Regions from separate parts of the Homo sapiens genome. Here all the other regions are linked to region 3. The links are contacts of gene promoters, found by promoter capture Hi-C in blood cells and fetal thymus (Javierre and others, 2016). All regions are on one chromosome and are shown on one strand. Each heading gives the region's core, a stretch centred on a gene start or on the middle of the fragment in contact. The rest is flanking DNA. Distances are from core to core; before and after follow the strand shown.

What was found. The method cuts DNA at HindIII sites, captures the fragments that hold promoters and counts their contacts. A CHiCAGO score of 5 or more calls a contact.
Region 1: a contact is called between a fragment that was not itself captured here and the fragment with the promoter of CCNH in region 3, in 2 of 17 cell types (M2 macrophages and endothelial precursors). The highest score is 7.2, in M2 macrophages.
Region 2: a fragment that was not itself captured here is called in contact with the fragment with the promoter of CCNH in region 3 in 1 of 17 cell types (M2 macrophages); the score reaches 13.1 in M2 macrophages.

The regions. Positions count from the first base shown.
Region 1 is chr5:88,698,005-88,702,563 of GRCh38, reverse strand. The region is part of intron 1 of MEF2C-AS2 (MEF2C antisense RNA 2); the gene reads right to left. Among named protein-coding and RNA genes, the nearest start is that of GSCAR, 3.1 kb to the right of the region's middle. The HindIII fragment of the contact is 1,106 bases long and covers 1,448-2,553 here.
Region 2 is chr5:88,720,634-88,725,272 of GRCh38, reverse strand. MEF2C (myocyte enhancer factor 2C) reads left to right here. Exons shown (of 11, transcript NM_002397.5): 11 at 2,348-4,639. The coding sequence ends at 2,669. It overlaps MEF2C-AS2 (MEF2C antisense RNA 2), which reads right to left. Exons shown (of 4, transcript NR_146284.1): 4 at 2,442-2,649. Among named protein-coding and RNA genes, the nearest start is that of GSCAR, 26 kb to the right of the region's middle. The HindIII fragment of the contact is 282 bases long and covers 1,481-1,762 here.
Region 3 is chr5:87,410,792-87,415,634 of GRCh38, reverse strand. It overlaps CCNH (cyclin H), which reads left to right and starts at 2,705. Exons shown (of 9, transcript NM_001239.4): 1 at 2,705-2,957; 2 at 4,289-4,411. The coding sequence starts at 2,841. It overlaps LOC105379066 (a long non-coding RNA gene), which reads right to left and starts at 2,653. Exons shown (of 3, transcript XR_948543.1): 1 at 2,574-2,653. RefSeq lists enhancers at 2,749-2,918, 2,949-3,078. The HindIII fragment of the contact is 6,680 bases long and covers 1-3,944 here.

The DNA.
Region 1 (4,559 bases), core at 751-3,250, 1.3 Mb before region 3:
AAATGTCAAAAGGAGGAGGAGCAGGTTGGATATGGTAACAGTACTCTCTGTTGACGTACTCCTGAGCTTCATACTTCTGGAAGCTTCACAATGATGTGGAATGTTATCCTGTGTTTTTCTCTGCCTGCGTCTCTGAAGTCTGTGTGTGTGTGTACACACACACGTATGCTGACACAGATAACTGTTTGAATAGGTCTTGAAGTTAAAACCCTTACTTTACAGTGTTGGTGTCACTGATCTTGAAGCTGCTTTTCTTCCTTGTTTAAGAAAATTGTATTTTATGTAAAGACACCATTAGGACAATGTCAGTAGCACTGCAGTTACATTTTCTGGCCAAAATGACAAGACTCAACAATGAGCCAGAATACAGACTTAATGCATTAAAAATATGACAGGTAAGAGCTTGGTGTAACCAGCCTTCAGGTAAAATTTAAAACTGAGGCAGTATTTTTAATGTAGGAAACCAACTGGAGATGTTCGTGCATAATTTGTAACCATGAAATTGGTTCCAGAAAGGGGTCATGAAAAGCATAGCTCTGCTAAGGCTGCAAAGCTTCTTTAGGGAAAAGTCACTCAACCCCTTCACTAAACCACCTTCTCTTCAGAGTCTTTAACAATGAATGCTTGTTGCAGGAGCTTAGTCACAACGTTTGCCCTGAACACTTGTGAAGGATCAGGCACAATACATTCCTCAGCCATGTGAGGATGTTGGGGCTACCTAGGACTTTCTCTTAGAGATACTTACCTAGGCCTGCTCTCCACAGGAAATATCTGTTGTGTTAGGCTGTTCTTGCATTGCTATAAAGAAATACCTGAGACTGGTAATTTATAAAGAAAAGAAGTTTAATTGGCTCAAGGTTCTGCAGGGTGTACAAGAAGCATGGTGCTGGCATCTGCTTGGCTTCTAGGAAGGCCTCAGGAAACTTACAATCATGGGAAAAGGCAAAGGAGGAGCAGTCAAGTCACATGGCAACAGCAGGAGCAAGCAAGAGAGAGTGGGGCTGGTGCAGGAGTGGGAGTGTCACACACTTTTAAGTGACCATATCTTGCTAGAACTCCCTATCATGAAGACAGCACCAAGCCATGAGGGATCCACTCCCATGATCCAAACACCTTCTACCAGGCCCCACCTCCAGCTTTGGGGATTACACTTCAGCATGAAATTTGGCTGGGGACGAATATCCAAACAATATCACCTGTTCTTCAGACCATTCTTACCCAATTTTGGAGATAAAAAAAATTATATATTTGTGTCCATTTTGCTAAGGCTTCATCCTTTTTTGTTCCAGGAAAACTATTCATGTACCACCATCCTCACCATCATCATCACAGTCTTTGCTGACACTAGATGTACTTACTAGATGCCAGGCACTAATTTCAGGTTTTCAGGCATTAACTCATTGAATCCTCATAACAACATTGTGAGATAGGCACAATCAGTAAAGCTTTTTTATGGGTGAGAAAAATTGAGGCATAGGATGAATTAACTTGCCATAGGGTCACCCCATTGGTAAATCAGAGAGCCAGGACTTGAATGAGATGGTTTCATTTACGGGTCTCATTCACAGGTTAAGCGACTCTTCAATGATTTATTAAGTGTCACTTAACCTGTAAATGCTGGAAATTAATGCATTGACTCTTTCTAGGGTGTCCATCCCTCTCCTCACCAGTATAATGAGGTTTATTCTAAAGGTAAAAATTTTAGATATTATATTAGATCAAAGTGGAACTCTTTCAATTTAGTAGAATTATCAGCAATTCTTCAATCAAACTGGATCATTCCCTCAGGAGCCAGACAGGGACACAAGCCACAGGCTGCCATGAACTAGCTAATCTCAAGAACACTTTCTGGGGTTTATTTAAAAATTTACTGTTGGTATGAAATAACTGTTACAAAGAATGATAGTTCCCTTCACGTAGCTGAGTCCTGGAGCCCAAATAACTGTAAGAAAAGATTAGCAGAAAAGTATCCAAGGTGTTCTAAAGGATTTGAAGGGGATATCCATATGACAAATGTACTTATTCAAGGCAACTGTTTAGGCAAAACCTGTGTCAGTTTCAGTCTTTGTGACAAGGCATGGACAACTAGTAAAAGTAGTTAAAGTGTCAAATGTGGTGCACAATGAAAAATCAAAAGGGGGAAAATGTGAGAGTCAATGTTTGGACAATTGACATAAAAAAATATGGGCACAATATGGCAGAAGGTGGGACAAGGTGGCCTCCTGTATAAATGCAATATGCTCAATGAAAGAATGTTTTATATGGGCATGTCAACAGTCAGCCTAATCTGAAAACCCAGCCATCAAGTGCCAGATGAGGAATGCCAAAATGCCAAGAAATATATCAAGAGGTAAAGAGAGCCAATAAAAAAACTTCCATCTTGTGGCAGTTTTATGGAAAGGATTTACATAGAAATCAAGAGCTAATAATGAGAGCATACAAATTACTGTGGAAAATGATGATTAGTGATAATAATTGTTCAAGAAAATGTGTGTCACCTGCCTCTAAATGTTAATTTACTTTAGACTAATGAATAATTCAAGCATCTAAGCTTAGGAAATACCCCACTTCTATCACTATTTCCCTAGTCAGGCCAAAAGGAGAGGACAACAACTGAATAGACCCCAACACCAACCTATTCCTTCCAAGTAATTTCTTCATTGCCTCTGACTGCCTGGTCATGCTGGCTAAGTCCTGAAAATCCCTTTCTTCTTTTTTTTTTTCTTACAACATTTCCTCATATCTTCAGGATTTCCAGGAGAGAAAGTAAGAGCAAAAATGAAGCAGAAGGAAGAAAAAAAGGAGGAAGAGCAAGAGGGGGAGAAGGATCAGGAAGAGGATGAGGAGAAAGGAGAAGGAGGAAAGAAAAAGAAGGGAGGAAGAAAAGAAGGAAAGGGAAAAAAAAAGAGAAAGGAACACACCAAAAGTATCCTCCCTCCAAATGTTAAATGCATTGAAGGAACTTACTTAGTTTTAGAAGTGTCCATGGAGTCTCACCAATTATATCTTACAGAAGACTCCTTTTGTTGCTCAATGTGAAGTTCTCAAAGTTAATGAATAAACAAATTAATCAGTTTCCTAGGCGGTGTGATTTCAGGAACAGCGGCTTTAAAAATAATTTTACCTTCTCCTGTCTGGTTTGGAAAGTCCATAATTAGAGAGTTTCTCATTTGCTTTCTAATTTGATATAAAGTAAATATCTCTAGGACATAGCCAATATAAATCTCTTACACTTTAGTATGAAATTTTATCAGATACTTTTCTACAGTTGATTGAAGAAACAAGGAGAGCCAGATACAAAGGGTGCCTAAAGAAGGAAGGAAATGAAAGCAAATGGAAAAATGACTAGATGCACTGCAGTTTATTTTTCCTGCTTGCAGTTTTACCTAAAAGGATGGTGACTGTCACTGTACCTCTAACTTGTGAGAGAATCATGTTAATTATTTTTGTGTGCACAGCACCAACCATAGAGTGCCATACTATGGATGTTTGCTGAATTAATGAATAAATGAATGCAAGTATTCAGTGATTACTGTAGTCTTGATATTTTGTAAAATCTATGCATAACACAATCCCTTGCTACTAGCAAGTTGTCTTCTAAAAGAAATGGTGTACGTAGCAAGTATTCTTTCCAACTAGCTATTTCTCTGCATTAATTTCTAAACCAGGTTCTGCCTTATCCCAAACCACTTTAGCTTCTGGTTAAGAAATGTATTGTTACTAGAAAACAAAACAGAACTGGTGCTTTTTTTGTATGCATAATATATACAAATGAAGAATGGCTAATGATCGAGATATCCAAAAGATGACCTATATCACAAATAGACATATTTAATCATTTATTCAATATTTACTGAGTATCTGCTGTGTAATGAGTAAGGCAGGCAAAGTCCCTGACCTCTTGGTGGTTCCTGTAATAGAAGTATATTTAAAAGTGTAAACGAATATAGAAACAAAGCTCTTTCAGATTATTACAGATTCTATTTTTAAAATACAAATGTGGTAGAGAGTGATGGGGTAATGGGTTGAGCTAGTTTGGCCTAGGAATGCTTCCTGAGAATGCAATGAGCATGCAATCATGTTAATTTCTGTGGGAAGTGTTCCAGGCATAGAGAACACCAATTATAAAGGGAAGAAGCAAGTGTTCTGGGGACAGAAAGGTGAATGTGGTTTCAACATAGGAGAAGAGTAGTCTTCTTTCTAGCACAAGCCCAATAATTTAAATTGTCATTGAATGATCTTTTAAAATTAATGTCTAAGAATTATAAATGGGTCTTCTACTGTCTAAATTTTAAAGCTGTCTTAGCTATTTTTTTTAAATTCAGCTATCTTATGTTCCAGATATGCTAGGTTTCAATTCTTTCCCTAATGGGCTTTCTTCATAATTGCACTGATGAGTATTTAAGCATTTATGACAGGCCAGCCTTAAAAGAGTGAGTTTATGTAGTACCATTATGTTCCCCTTACTAAAGTTAGACAACAAAGAGTATTCCCTCCAAACGTGTTCATTAAGATTCATATCTGATTTGAAAAGCTTGAAGGAATTGTGGCCAAAGATT
Region 2 (4,639 bases), core at 372-2,871, 1.3 Mb before region 3:
TTCAGTGTCAAATGAAATTCCACCAAAAGATAAATTTAAGCTAGTCTGTTTGTAGGAAGGGATAACCAATAATTGTTACATCTTTCATGGGGAAGATACACAGCTAAACCTATACAGGCCAGTTAACATAGGAAGATGATGCAAAGAGGTGAATAATGCAGCTTCCAAAAACTGTATTAAAGAAACAGAATTTTGGTTATATTATTTTTCCCTTACCTTGTCTAGATTAACTGCTTAGACTGTCCAACTCACCAATTTTTTCTTCTAATTTTCTATGTCACCCTCCCTGTGAAGACATAATCTGTATGTCAAAGAGCAAGCAAAAGTATTTATTGACATATCACTTTTTATTTTCAGACTCCTAATTCATATTCATTATTAAATAGTTGTGTGATTCATAGCAGAAGCATTTAATTAAATTTTAGTGAAATGGTCTTTCTTAGAGCCAGGAAAATTCTTTATTCCAGAAATCAAAAGACGATTTCCTCAAACATCAGAATGAATCACTAAGTAACTTTGAACCAAGATAAAATAGTCTACCATTATGAATCCTTTTGAAATACAGGTGTTCCCTCTCCCCATTTTAACAAGGCTTATTTAATTAAAACTTTTGGAAAATTAGTAAACTGATAGACTATAAATTAATAAGCTACAAATAAATAGCTCCAAATATAAACAGGTGTTTGAAAATTATATACAGTCAGTGTAGTTTCTTGATATAAATGCTAACACTGCTTTGATTATATAAGATCATAAAAGCTAGAGAAAGAGACGCTTATTAAGGAAACAAATAATTCTCCTTTATATTATTCTCTACATTAGCTCATCTATTTATTAATAGGAGAAGGAAAGTAATTCTTTGCCAGTAGGTGGTGCTTTTGTACAAAACATCACTCAAAGATAAACTCGTTTCTGACTAATTTTATATCACTATACATCTTGAGTTTGTATTGCATCTCCCAAAAAGCCAGCCCCAAGTTACTTCACTTTTTTTCTGAAATATATACTTTTTCTCTCAGTGGTCATAATGACATTGTTAGTGCCAACTAATTCTCTCCACTGGAAAGCAGCATAATTACATACATTAGTAAGTAGGCTTGCTTTCCTTTGTTTAAAATGGGTGTGTCTGTATGGATAATTCTTCACTTGGATTCTTCCTCAGTAAAAGAGAGTACCATGCTCTTTTGACAATATAGTCAAGTAATCCTGACTCTAGCTCTGGAAGTCAGTGTAATTAGTGTAAGAAGAGTAAAAGCATCTTAAAATTGATGCGAGCAATGCCACTATGGTTTATCCTGATCAAAGTCATTGTGATTGCTAATCTACACTTAAGGGCTTAATACTTTTTTCCTCTAGAATTCCAAGTTTCTAAATTTTCCCAGATTTTGGAAAAAGGAAAAATTATTCTCTCTGGGAATATATGAGGATTAAGGATTATAAACACAGTAAAATCACACTACATCCTTCTTGGCAACAAGCTTTCCTTAGGCAACACCAGATTCATCAACTAATGCCAATGATAAATAAGAGGAGTGGTAGCCTAAGAACCGCACGCATCAGGGAGTGACTAACATTAATAAAATTGAGGTCATTGTGGAACACAAAGTATTTTCATCTCATGTAACTGCAAAAGGATGAAGAAAGTCAAATTATCAGTTTTAATGGAGTAGAAAGTCTTAAGTGTTTGAAAACCAACGTTTAAACTTTCTGCAGATAATTTTCAATTTCCCTCCCCCTTTCCATTTTTTCCACCTCCAAAGCTTTTTACCAGATACAGTTATTGTGCAGCATTTGAGTTCTAGTCATTTAAAATTTAACTCCCTTCACTTTCTCTGAAGACTATGTGATTCCATCTGTATGTGCTTATTAATTGGAGGCAAATATTTATATTGATAATAAGCTTTTAAAAATAATATTCAAACACAAGCATTAGTAAATCAAGGAAGTCTAATTCCAGAGCTAAACACTGTATCTAAATGCTTAGAAATTTAATTTTTAGAACTAGTCTAGGGATAGAGTCCATGAACACAGAAAATGCTTTTTCCATTGTGTCTTAAACCTTTCTGAAATGGTAACCTATATGTTTAGGGAGCCTCTCGGAGACTAGAGATATAATTCATGAGGCCTGGACCAGTTAAATGCTGTAATTACTACCGGGCAAATCAACAAAGGCATCCTAAATCGCCCTGAGAAGGCGATGCCCTTATGTGCTTCCAAGCACGTTTTCTTCACTCTGGGCATGCTCTGGTGTCTATGCGAGTCTTTAAGCTGATGTTTGATTTAATTGTGAGTTCCTGGGGCCTCCAGGCCTCCTTCATCTGTAACTGGGTTTCCTTTCCTCCTACAGAGCTTGCACTAGCACTCATTTATCTCAGAGTTCAAATCTCTCCCTGCCTTCTACTCAAAGCCTCAACATCAAGTCAGAACCTGTTTCTCCTCCTAGAGACCGTACCACCACCCCTTCGAGATACCCACAACACACGCGCCACGAGGCGGGGAGATCTCCTGTTGACAGCTTGAGCAGCTGTAGCAGTTCGTACGACGGGAGCGACCGAGAGGATCACCGGAACGAATTCCACTCCCCCATTGGACTCACCAGACCTTCGCCGGACGAAAGGGAAAGTCCCTCAGTCAAGCGCATGCGACTTTCTGAAGGATGGGCAACATGATCAGATTATTACTTACTAGTTTTTTTTTTTTTCTTGCAGTGTGTGTGTGTGCTATACCTTAATGGGGAAGGGGGGTCGATATGCATTATATGTGCCGTGTGTGGAAAAAAAAAAAGTCAGGTACTCTGTTTTGTAAAAGTACTTTTAAATTGCCTCAGTGATACAGTATAAAGATAAACAGAAATGCTGAGATAAGCTTAGCACTTGAGTTGTACAACAGAACACTTGTACAAAATAGATTTTAAGGCTAACTTCTTTTCACTGTTGTGCTCCTTTGCAAAATGTATGTTACAATAGATAGTGTCATGTTGCAGGTTCAACGTTATTTACATGTAAATAGACAAAAGGAAACATTTGCCAAAAGCGGCAGATCTTTACTGAAAGAGAGAGCAGCTGTTATGCAACATATAGAAAAATGTATAGATGCTTGGACAGACCCGGTAATGGGTGGCCATTGGTAAATGTTAGGAACACACCAGGTCACCTGACATCCCAAGAATGCTCACAAACCTGCAGGCATATCATTGGCGTATGGCACTCATTAAAAAGGATCAGAGACCATTAAAAGAGGACCATACCTATTAAAAAAAAATGTGGAGTTGGAGGGCTAACATATTTAATTAAATAAATAAATAAATCTGGGTCTGCATCTCTTATTAAATAAAAATATAAAAATATGTACATTACATTTTGCTTATTTTCATATAAAAGGTAAGACAGAGTTTGCAAAGCATTTGTGGCTTTTTGTAGTTTACTTAAGCCAAAATGTGTTTTTTTCCCCTTGATAGCTTCGCTAATATTTTAAACAGTCCTGTAAAAAACCAAAAAGGACTTTTTGTATAGAAAGCACTACCCTAAGCCATGAAGAACTCCATGCTTTGCTAACCAAGATAACTGTTTTCTCTTTGTAGAAGTTTTGTTTTTGAAATGTGTATTTCTAATTATATAAAATATTAAGAATCTTTTAAAAAAATCTGTGAAATTAACATGCTTGTGTATAGCTTTCTAATATATATAATATTATGGTAATAGCAGAAGTTTTGTTATCTTAATAGCGGGAGGGGGGTATATTTGTGCAGTTGCACATTTGAGTAACTATTTTCTTTCTGTTTTCTTTTACTCTGCTTACATTTTATAAGTTTAAGGTCAGCTGTCAAAAGGATAACCTGTGGGGTTAGAACATATCACATTGCAACACCCTAAATTGTTTTTAATACATTAGCAATCTATTGGGTCAACTGACATCCATTGTATATACTAGTTTCTTTCATGCTATTTTTATTTTGTTTTTTGCATTTTTATCAAATGCAGGGCCCCTTTCTGATCTCACCATTTCACCATGCATCTTGGAATTCAGTAAGTGCATATCCTAACTTGCCCATATTCTAAATCATCTGGTTGGTTTTCAGCCTAGAATTTGATACGCTTTTTAGAAATATGCCCAGAATAGAAAAGCTATGTTGGGGCACATGTCCTGCAAATATGGCCCTAGAAACAAGTGATATGGAATTTACTTGGTGAATAAGTTATAAATTCCCACAGAAGAAAAATGTGAAAGACTGGGTGCTAGACAAGAAGGAAGCAGGTAAAGGGATAGTTGCTTTGTCATCCGTTTTTAATTATTTTAACTGACCCTTGACAATCTTGTCAGCAATATAGGACTGTTGAACAATCCCGGTGTGTCAGGACCCCCAAATGTCACTTCTGCATAAAGCATGTATGTCATCTATTTTTTCTTCAATAAAGAGATTTAATAGCCATTTCAAGAAATCCCATAAAGAACCTCTCTATGTCCCTTTTTTTAATTTAAAAAAAATGACTCTTGTCTAATATTCGTCTATAAGGGATTAATTTTCAGACCCTTTAATAAGTGAGTGCCATAAGAAAGTCAATATATATTGTTTAAAAGATATTTCAGTCTAGGAAAGATTTTCCTTCTCTTGGAATGTGAAGATCTGTCGATTCATCTC
Region 3 (4,843 bases), core at 1,456-3,955:
ACTCTTATGGGAAATTTTGGAATAGCACGTGGATAAGTACAGGACATTTCTGTGGTGGCCAAACAGATGACACCTGCTTGGCATCACCTAATCTCTGATTGGTAACCCTTAGTTTACAGGTAATGCCTGCAAGTCAAAATATTTGGAATTTGTCTACAAGTACATACCATAGCACAATTTAACAACTGCAGCACAATAAAAGAGATTGTATTTACTTTTAAAAGTCATTGAAATATTTCTTAACATTTCACTTCTGAGTAGTGTCTAATGAAATAGTGATATCTTTGTCAACAAGCTGTGAATTTCCCTATGTCTTCTAGGAAGAATAGGTTCTGTCTGGTTAGTTGGTTTGTTCTTGTTTGAAATATCTTCATTTAGTAGCAGGGACATTGTGATTTAAAACTAATGGAGTTGGGAGGCCCAGGCAGGCGGATCACTTGAGGCCACAAGTTCTAGACCAGCCTGGCCAACATGGTGAAACCCCATCTCTACTAAAAATACAAAAATTAGCTGGGCATGGTGGCATGAGCCTGTAGTCCCAGCTACTCAGGAGGCTGAGGCTGGAGAATGGCTTTAACCCAGGAGGCGGAGGTTGCAGTGAGCGAAGATTGTGCCACTGCACTCCAGTCTGGGTGACAGAGCAAGACTTTGTCTCAAAAAAGAAGAAGAAGAAGAAGAAAAAAACCTAATGGAGGTGTGGGTGGAGGGTAGAAGGGAACTGGCCATGTATTGATAATTTTTGAAATATGTTTCTCTGTATTCTTTATATTTGAAATTCTCCATAAATAAATAAGTAAAAATAATAGAAGTGAAGAGAAACACTTGCTACTTTTTAGTTGAAACTAGAAATGGAAATAGGTAAAGGCACAAGTTCTGCATTCCAGTGTGCCTCCTGTGGTAGCAATAGCAAAGAAACACTGTCGCACAACAGGCTGAGTAGGAGACTGTCACAGCATCCAGTCTGCTTACCTTAGTAAGAAAAACCATACATGAGCCTTAATGTTAGGGCATCAGCAACAATTGTATTCCTCAGACAGTTAATTTAGACAGAGCCCAATTCCTACTACATCTGAAAAATAAGATCAATGTCAATTTTCATGGACTAAAATTTGTTCAAGGTTTAAAAAAAATTACACCAGCAATGCCAGGTTTTTCATATATTTTTCCTAAATGACATTCAGAAATTTTACTCATATCTCTGTGGAAATCACAGTCTGCCAACTCTTTTAAATGCCTATTTTTATTATCCTTTACATAAAACTAAGGAGTTGTCAAATATCTTTCAGAAAAACAAAATGAAAAGAATTTATATGATATATATAACAGTCATGAGGCTAAGACTTTATATAGACATTTAATTATCTAGATCACTTATTTTCCTATCTTTTGTACCATTATGTTTTTCTCTTTTAAATTATTCTTTCCCCAACATGCAACATTTTAGGTTGTTCACAATTCATTGTAATCAATTTGCCATGCCCTTTGATCTTCTCTTTTTCTCTCTTTTCTTAGCCAATTTATGAGACCAGGTTAGCCACATATGTTGAGTGTGTGGCTCTCCAAAATTATATACCACAAATGGCATAAGTTTGAGGAATTCAGATAACTGTGGCAAACTCTAACCTCAGCTGTACCCAACAAAAATGAAAAAGAAAAGGCTTTCCCTTTCTTAAGCCCCTAAAAACATTTTAATAGAAAGCAGAGTTAAAGTCATCCTGCCACTTCTTCTTTTTACCTGTGTGGGCTTTTCAAGACCTAAATTCTCTAGGTCTCATCATCTTTCTCTTTCTTTTTATTTATTTATTTATTTTTTAGAAAAGCTATTTGCCATAGGGAAATCCATTTTTCGGATTGGATATATAATAAATACATGAGAGAATAAGGTATGCCTAAATGGGACAAACCAGAATCCATGTAAATTTTGAACCTCACCTGCAATTTTGAAAGTCCTATTAATTTAAAAAATAGTAAATACCTTAATTTTCATGATAGCTTACTGTAAGGCTCCCTAGAGGCAATGAAAATGGGAATCTCAATAAAACGAATACTACCATACATCCTGGCTTCAGAGATGAAAACAGAGGGAGAGGATTGGCTAGTTATCAACAGAAGGGTAAGGAAAAAAAGCACAGAGAAAGAACAGACAAGGCAACAAAAGTGGCAGAACTGTAAGGGCCAATACGCATCCACTGCTTCAAGTTTTTCAGCCATGTTCCATTCTCCGAGATTTCTGGTAGTGCTTCAAGAATACTGGTCTCCAAACTCTTCCTGAAAAGGGCTAGGAATGCTTCTGCCTGAAGATCTTACCTATTCTTTCTGGGCCCCGTGATCTCCCTACATGATTGATCAACCTACTATTTCAACTCTTTCAAGCCTTTTCACAAATGTCAACTTCAGTGAGGCCTCTATTTAAAAATGAGCACCCTACGAAATCCTTTCCTCATTTCTGATTATCCCCTGTGAATTTACATCTGCCTACTCCGTACCCTCAGTTTATGCCCCTTGAACACTCTTGCCGGGCGCTTCTCCTTTAAATCTTGCCTGGAAGGGGCGGAGCTATGTCCCAGACTCACCGAGAGGAGCGTTCTCTAGGCTCCGCCCACTTACGTCTCAGTGGGCGCCCTAACGAACCCGGGATACGGTCTGTTCCTAGTCCGCTCCGGAAATGCAACTGCGTACGGGCTGGCCGCGTAATCGTGACGACAGCGCGCCAGCGCCGGCTAGCCGGACGCCCTAGGCTTCCGCGAGATCTTCGGTGGGGGTACGGGTGTTTTACGCCAGGACGCTGATGCGTTTGGGTTCTCGTCTGCAGACCCTCTGGACCTGGTCACGATTCCATAATGTACCACAACAGTAGTCAGAAGCGGCACTGGACCTTCTCCAGCGAGGAGCAGCTGGCAAGACTGCGGGCTGACGCCAACCGCAAATTCAGATGCAAAGCCGTGGCCAACGGGAAGGTGAGGTTTTCCCAACGGTTGCCCAGTTGCCCGGTCACTAAATTCTGAGCAGCTGCGGGAGCTCTTCTGGCTCCCAGGACAATCTCGCTCCGTCGTTTCTCTGCCTCTGCGGCGCGGAGTGCGTTTTTCTATCAAAATAAGCGAGCACCTTGCCAGGTTCCGTGGGTACAAAGACGAACAACGCCATCCCCGTCGTCGAATGGCAGACAAGTAACCAGTCTTTGTAACGTAGTGAAGAAGAGAGTAAGTAGTGTGCTAAGGTAGTGCGTGGCAAGAGCCGTTCACTTGTCAAGAGATGATGTTGGGGAAGGTTTTTCCCAGTAGCCAATGCGGAGAAAATGGGAAAGGAAGTTCCAGGCAGTCAGAACCACCGTTCAGAGTGGGAGGGAGGTCAGAAGTTACAGAGATGGTGCGTGGACGTGTTTGTGGTCGTATGTGGCCGAAGTTGAGTACCTGTGCAGGAATGGCTGGGGAGGGTAGGAAGGGAACTTGTAAGTGGAAGTGAGGCGTTTAACATTTCCACTGAAAGGATGAGGAACCTTTGAAATATTTAAAATGGGAAGCTAACCTTATCAGATTTCCGTTCTGGAAACAGCGCTCTAGCAACCTCGTGGTGAATGGGTTGGATGAGGGAGGGAGACCAGAGACCAAGTACAAACCAAGTGACTGAAGATGGTTTGGACTATGGCCCGCTAGCCAAGTTCCTTCTGTTACAGCTCTCGGACTGGTTTAATCTTTCCTGCAAGCTCCACTCCAGCAAGTGTTCAGTGCCTCCAAATTACCGATACTGAGTTACTTTACTTTCTACCTTTAATTCACATCTATTTCATATCACTGATTTTAGCACCTGAATTAGTTTCCTAAGGGCTGCCTTAAAAAAATCACCACAAACTGGGTAGCTTAAAATAACAGAAATTTATTGAAACATTTGCTGTTTTTTTACAACTTGTGACGTAATGACTGACCGAGAAACGGATGTTGGAAGCTTTCCAATCATATTTTAAAAAGTCTGTCTACTTTTTAATTTATAAATAATGATATCACAACTGTGAGCATGTGCACACAGCCTGTCATGATTGTTTATACTTTAATGAAGCAAAGGTCTAGCTGACATTCCGAAAAGTCGTGAAATGATGGTACAGTTTTAGTTTATTAAATATTTTCCTACAGCTATTTTGTGTAATGATTAGCGAATCTATAAAGAAAATGAGGCGTGATATATACCCTTCGTTGGATATATAAACTAAATTTAATCTAGATAGAGAAAAATGTTTTACAATTGTTTAATTCATTGAATTCATTGAACTTGTGTTGTAATTGTTGATCTAAAGGTTCTTCCGAATGATCCAGTCTTTCTTGAGCCTCATGAAGAAATGACACTCTGCAAATACTATGAGAAAAGGTTATTGGAATTCTGTTCGGTGTTTAAGCCAGCAATGCCAAGATCTGTTGTGGTAAGTTACAGTGGTGATGAAATATAATGTCCTTTAGTTGGCTTGTGAAATTTGACCTCTTCTAAATTCCCTGTCCACTCAAGTCTTAAAAATTCACCTTAGTTACAATTAATTAGTTTTTGGCACATTATATATTTTTCAATACAGGCCTTAAATCATGAGTTGCTGTATCATATCTTCAAAAGTATTTCAAGTCTCACTTTGTGGTCAGAAAAAAATTTGAGGTCAGGTAATGTCATAAAGAAAGAAAAAAAATAAATTACTTTCCTCTAAGTTCTCAACTAATGAGCCATAGGACTGGGACTAGAACATAGACTACTGCTTTTCCAACTCTGTGACACCCAATAAATGTTTGAAATAATGCATTCATTCATCATTGGTAATCATATGCCCCAGCTGAAACTGATACCATAAGATTTTTTTAAGCCTTGA